2 separate regions of the Homo sapiens genome follow, and region 1 is linked to region 2. Evidence: promoter capture Hi-C in human tissues and cell types (Jung and others, 2019). All regions are on one chromosome and are shown on one strand. Each heading gives the region's core, a stretch centred on a gene start or on the middle of the fragment in contact. The rest is flanking DNA. Distances are from core to core; before and after follow the strand shown.

The links. The method cuts DNA at HindIII sites, captures the fragments that hold promoters and counts their contacts. A contact is called where the count stands out against the background at its distance.
Region 1: a contact is called between a fragment that was not itself captured here and the fragment with the promoter of TTF1 in region 2, in 1 of the 25 tissues and cell types used here (thymus).

The regions. Positions count from the first base shown.
Region 1 is chr9:132,452,575-132,455,572 of GRCh38, forward strand. All of the region lies in intron 1 of CFAP77 (cilia and flagella associated protein 77), which reads left to right. Among named protein-coding and RNA genes, the nearest start is that of CFAP77, 44 kb to the left of the region's middle. The HindIII fragment of the contact is 4,956 bases long and covers 1-2,998 here.
Region 2 is chr9:132,405,546-132,408,540 of GRCh38, forward strand. It overlaps TTF1 (transcription termination factor 1), which reads right to left and starts at 1,295. Exons shown (of 11, transcript NM_007344.4): 1 at 1,245-1,295. The HindIII fragment of the contact is 7,318 bases long and covers 1-2,352 here.

The sequences.
Region 1 (2,998 bases), core at 70-2,569, 47 kb after region 2:
GTTTTACTCCAGAGAGAGCTATTGAACTGCCACTAACATTGGATTCTGCACCAGGAGTCAGGCCTGTGCCCAGCAACTAAGAATCAGGACTAGGACCTCGGTGGAAGCTCCAGGGAGGCAGACTCCAATTGGATATAAAGAAGAGGTGCCCGAGAGTGTGACGGATCTGTTGCTGAGATGGGGTGCCTCATGCAGCAGGGGTGCTCTGTCCCAGAAGGAACTAAACAGCCTGGAGACCCACTGACTCTGCAAGGAACATTTATTGGACCTGAGCAGGAGGGAGGACCAGATGACCCTTTCTGACTCTCAAATTCTTTGACTCTAAGAAGGAGTTCCATTCCTAATATACCTGAAAAGCTCTTAGTGGCGCTGCCATTAAGCAGAGTTAATGGCAATAAATTCTGCCATTGTATTTCTTGGCTAAGCAGAGAAAAGCATTAGACTCATGGTGTGTGCTCAGTCAACACGAACCACTTGGCTTTTCTTTTGCCAAGCAGCAAGTTAGTGAAGCTGGATGAACCTGGGGCATGGACCTGACACTCAGCCTTCACTCTTCCCTTCATGCCCTCAGTGAATCTCCATTTCCTCTTCTGTAAAAGGAGGGGAGTAACAGTGATTCCTAAAATCCTTCCCAAATTTAACGTTCAGCTTTTTAAAAAGCCAATATAGGCCGGGCGCAGTGGCTCACACCTGTAATCCTAGCACTTTGGGAGGCTGAGGCAGGTGGATTGCCTGAGCTCCGGAGTTCGAGACCAGCCTGGGCAACACGGTGAAACTCCGTCTCTGCTAAAATACAAAAAAATTAGCTGGGCAAGACGGCATGCGCCTGTAATCCCAGTTACTTGGGAGGCTGAGGCAGGAGAATTGCTTGAACCCGGGAGGCGGAGGTTGCAGTGAGCTGAGATCACGCCATTGCACTCCAGCCTGGGCGACAGAGCGAGACTCCGTCTCAAAAAATAAAATAAAATAAAGCCAATATAATTCATATATCTGGTGGAAGGAAATATATATCATGTTGGTTCCAATTGAAGCCAAAAGATTCATTTAAAAACCCCACAGAAACCGTTTGTTTTCATAAAAAGGGCTTCAGTGTGGGGGCTGGAGCCAGGGGCACCAGGTAATGAACCCCAACCCTGTATCTTGCTGCCCACTCTTGTAGCAATTCTTGGATTCTTGGGTAGGAGTCAGAAAGCTTGGATCATTCTGGATGTTTTCTCCCTTAATCAATCATCTTTTGGTCTCTCACTTCTGAGTACGTAAGAGCCATTTGCTTTTCACATTTACAATACTTTCTTTTGGAATGTTGTCCCTTACTGATTCAGAGAAAGGAGGACATTTGTTTTAACAGATTTGAATTTATCAGCGTGTGTATTTGCACCAAAGCATAATAATAATAAATTACAGTCCTAATAAGTAGGTTGCCCAGAAGGAGGGCGGTGGCACCCCCAATAATTGATGTACATTCTTTGCAATTTAGGGGCATCATAATTTATCGGGGTTCATTTTTTTTGTATCCAATTTGAAGAAAGGCAGCTGTGTTTTGTATGCAATAAACTCTGCCATTGTACTTCTTGGCTAAGCAGAGAAAAGCATCATAATTTTTTGCCTATTTCCTAGTTATTACTGCAGTATCTAGTAGCTTCTTTATGGGAAAGAGTTTATCAATATTTCAATTATAAACCCCAATTTTCAGGAGGGTTGTAACTCATCTATTTAAAAATCAGATCAGGCTGAAAACACAGTGAGTAGCTTGTCATCCCAGGAAACCGAGGGCTTTCTAAAATATTAAATAACCAGTGTAAGTCAGTTCGATTTCTTTGAACTTTTAGGGTAAAACTTTGGTTTTACTTCCCCACATGAATAAAGTGGAACTAAGCTTCTTTCTCCATAAAACGTGTTCAGGTGTTACTGAGGTTTCCATTTGCAAGTAAAGGGAACAGGTGCTGAAATCGGCATCTCTGATATTGTTCATTGGTTGGTGTGTTCTGGAAAAGCTGCCCACACATCACATTTTTTACCAATTGAGTGATAGTTTGATACAATGCCCTTTTGAATGGAACCACGTGGTGAATCCTTTTCTAGAAGTGAAGACTACTTCAGGAAAGCAAGTAAGCACTCCTAATTATGCAACAGTATCCTAGCTTTGAGAAGGCAGACATACCTATAACGTAGCCAGGGGCCAGCATTGCCCTTGTTATTGAGTGGATGGGGACAGGCCAGCCATCTAGTGGCCCAGCCCTCCTGGTAGACATGTGGACCTCAGGCACCTAAGGCCATCTGTTGACTTCAATCAGTCAGTGACTTGAGCCAATTCTCCCCACCCAAACCACACACTGAGGCACTTCTTTCAAAGTCCCCTTAAGTCAGAGAGTGATCACTTAGACCATCCCAGGATTACCTGAAGTGAGGACATCACAAAATGTCATAACATCCTACAAAAAAAAAGAAAGAAAAGGCAATAAATTAGCCTGCACAAAGAACTCCAGTCCATGGGAAGGCCCAGTGATATCTTGTGAAGTTTGTTCTACTCGCAGATCCTAGCTGGCCCTTTCCTAGGCTTTATCAGGCCTGGGACCTTGTTGATGGCAATACCATCTGTCATTGCAGCAGAGCCCAGTAGTGTGGGGTTCTTACCTTAAAAAGTGGAACTGGCTGGGTGCTGTGGCTTACACCTGTAATCCCAGCACTTTGGGAGGCCGAGGCGGGTGGATCACCTGAGGTCAGGAGTTCGAGATCAGCCTGGCCAACATGGCGAAACCTCATCTCTACTAAAAATACAAAAATTAGCCAGGTGTGGTGGCGGGCACCTGATATCCCAGCTACTCGGGAGGCTGAGGCAGGGAGGACTGCTTGAAACCAGGAGGTGGAGGTTGCGGTGAGCTGAGATCGTGCCACTGTACTCTAGCCTGGGTGGCAGAGCGAGACTCCTGAAAAAAAAAAACAAAAAAACTTCGAGACCAGCCTGGGCAACATGGCGAGACCCTATCTCTACTAAAAA
Region 2 (2,995 bases), core at 45-2,544:
CTTTCCTTCTTTTTTGTAAATACTTCCTAGGCTGCTCTCTGGTCTCTGGAGCCCAGTACAACCTTCTAAATATATAGTCTCTCCCTGCTAAAAACTTTTTAGGGTTCCCCTGTTATTCTTAAGATAAAGTCAAAATCCTCACAGACCTGCAAGAGTCTTCATTTCTTCATAATCTAGCCTAGAGATGGACAGAGGTAAGTCCATGCCCACCTCTCTACCTCTCACTTCTCTCTAGGTTTCAGAAACCCTGCTGTTTTCAGTTCCTAGAATACACTACCTTCCTTTTCGTCTCAGGAACTTTGCAAAAACAGCCCATTCCATCAGGAAAGCTCTTCCTCCGCATTACCTTTCTGCCCTTTAACTGGTCCAAGTATGAAAGCCACTTTCTCAAGAGGACCTCTCTAACTCCTTAGCCGGTCTCATCTTTCTGGTTAACAGTGTTTCCCAACAACCAGCTGCTCCCCATTGCACTTTTGGCAGTTATAATATGATCGGCTTCTTGAGGGCTGGAATCCTGGCCATCTTGCTCCCAAATGGCTCCCCAGTCAGTGCTCGATACATATTGAGAACGGATATGCATTTATCCCCCCTTACTCAGAACATACACTTCCCGCTCTGCAGGTACGTGCCCAAACCTGGTCCCGGATTCTCTCACCGCCTTTGGGGTGCGAGAGAGACCCCGCTCTGCTCCCGGGTGGGCGCTCCAGGGCTGAGACTGGAGGAACTAACCAGATGTGAATTCTGCATCTTCTCACTCCCAAAGACCCAAGCCGCGGCCGGGCGCGGTGGCTCACGCTTGTCATCCCAGCACTTTGAGAGGCCGAGGCGGGTGGATCACCTGAAGTCAGGAGTTCGAGACCAGCCTGGCCAACATGGTGAAACCCTGTCTCTACTAAAAATACAAAAATTAGCTAGGCTTGGTGGCGGGCGCCTATAATCCCAGCTACTCGGGAGGCTGAGGCAGGAGAATCGCTTGAACCCAGGAAGCGGAGGTTGCAGTGAGCCGAGATCGCGCCACCGCACTCCAGCCTGGGCGACAAGAGCAAAACTCCATCTTTAAAAAAAAAAAAAAAAAACACCCAAGCCTCAGTTTCCCCGAGATAAGGCCTGGGGCAAAGACCGCGGCCTGGAGACCTCAGGCCAAAAGGCGGGTCTCCCAGAAGACGGGGAAACCCACCACCCCACGCTGAGTTTTTACGCGCGCATTTTGAAAAACAGAAACAACAAAGGCGCTTTCAACTTACCCTCCGAAAGCGCCGCCACCTTTCTCCCAACCCGGAAGTGCTGCTGTTGAGGAAGCGGAAGTAGTAGTGCGTCGCCTTCCGGCCCCCTCGGCGTCACGCTGCCATGGTAACACGGCTGCCGCTAGGCCTTGGAGGCGCGCACATTTGCCTACCCATTTTCCTTCTGGGTCCTTTAGACGTCAGGTGGGGTAGAGAGTGCTCCTGAAACGAAGAAAGTAGGACAGAATCCCCCTCCATTGACGTACTAATGCATGCGTGCATTCCATTTATTCCAGTTTTTGGTGAACTCCAGGAACAACTTGGGAAGACAGATGACAAATCAACTAAGATAATTTCAGATTATCTTGTAAGGAAAATAAAACAGGGTGACGTGATGGAGAGTGACTAGGGGACGGTGGGTGCTACTTTAGATGTAAGAGAGGGCTCACTGAGGAGGTGACATTTGAACTGAGTTCTAAATGGAAAGGGCAGGCAAAAAATCTAGGCAGAAGAGTGTTCCAGGCTGGAAGTGAGTGCAAAAGTCCTGAACTTGGTTGCTGGAGGACCTGGGACAAGGCCAGAGCAGCTGGAGCACAGAGTGAATCCACACAGTGAACCCACAGGGTGACAGACAGGTCGCACACGCCCAGCCTAAGTGAATGCATGTGAATGCAGGGGAGGGGGTGGGAGAGGAAGTCAGAGGTCTGCAGGGGCTATCTGGTGCAGAGGCTGATGGATGTTAAGCTTGGATGAAGTCTCAGAAGTTTAGAGTTAGCAGGAGCTTTGGAGATCTATCCCAGTCTTCCCATTTCAACAGAGTCCTGAAGAGACTTAGCCAAAAGGGCAGCTTTAACCTGGCCATCAATTCGAGGCCATTATATTTACCAACCAAACGTTTAACCTTTTTGGATAGTGAACATATACGATATAGGCAACAAGTTTTCTCACTTAATCCTTGTAATGAGGTATTATTAGCCCCACCTTGTGGATGAGAAACCTGGGTTTACAGTAACTTGTCCAAGGTGACTTAAATGGGCCAGCCAGAAATCAGACCTATGCTCTTTCTACTACTCCACTATCTTGCCCCTCACTGTTCCACCTGACTTCTATGTGATCTGCCAAGTGGCTTTGATTAAAAAATGCACAAACTATGCTTCCGTGAAAGTCTGGAAGGGAAGCAGGTTGGAGAAACGATGAGCCTATGTATGTACTCATGTTGCCATGCAAGGGCTGCTCTGGGATGTGGACGTGCAGTTGGAGCTCCGTCTGGAGAAGTCTGTAAATGTGGTGTTGTCCACTGTTGATATGGAAGGCCTTGAAGTCCAGGTCCGTCATTGGTGTCACGTGTTCTGTGGTGACCCCACTTACCCAGAGCCTTGTGGTGCTAGTGATGCATGAATGAACCCACAAAAGGCTGGCACTAGAGGAGAGATTAGATATCATCCAGTATCGATTCAGGAAAACTCCAATAGTGGTTTCCAATCCTCCTCCAACTGCACCAATCACCTGGGAAGCTTTTTTTTTTTTTTTTCAAATGCAGAGTCTCAACTTTGCAATGGATTTTATATTAAACACTATTGTATCACATTAAAATCTTCGGACATGATAATGACATTGTAGTTACACATGGGAATGTCCTTGCTACATGATGACGTACTTAGGGTTAAATATGGTGTTGACAGATATTTTTCAGGTGATTCTGTAATGTGTGTATGTGCATGCTCACAGAGAGAGAGCAAGAAAATGTGACCAGTGCTGGGGACGGGTGAATC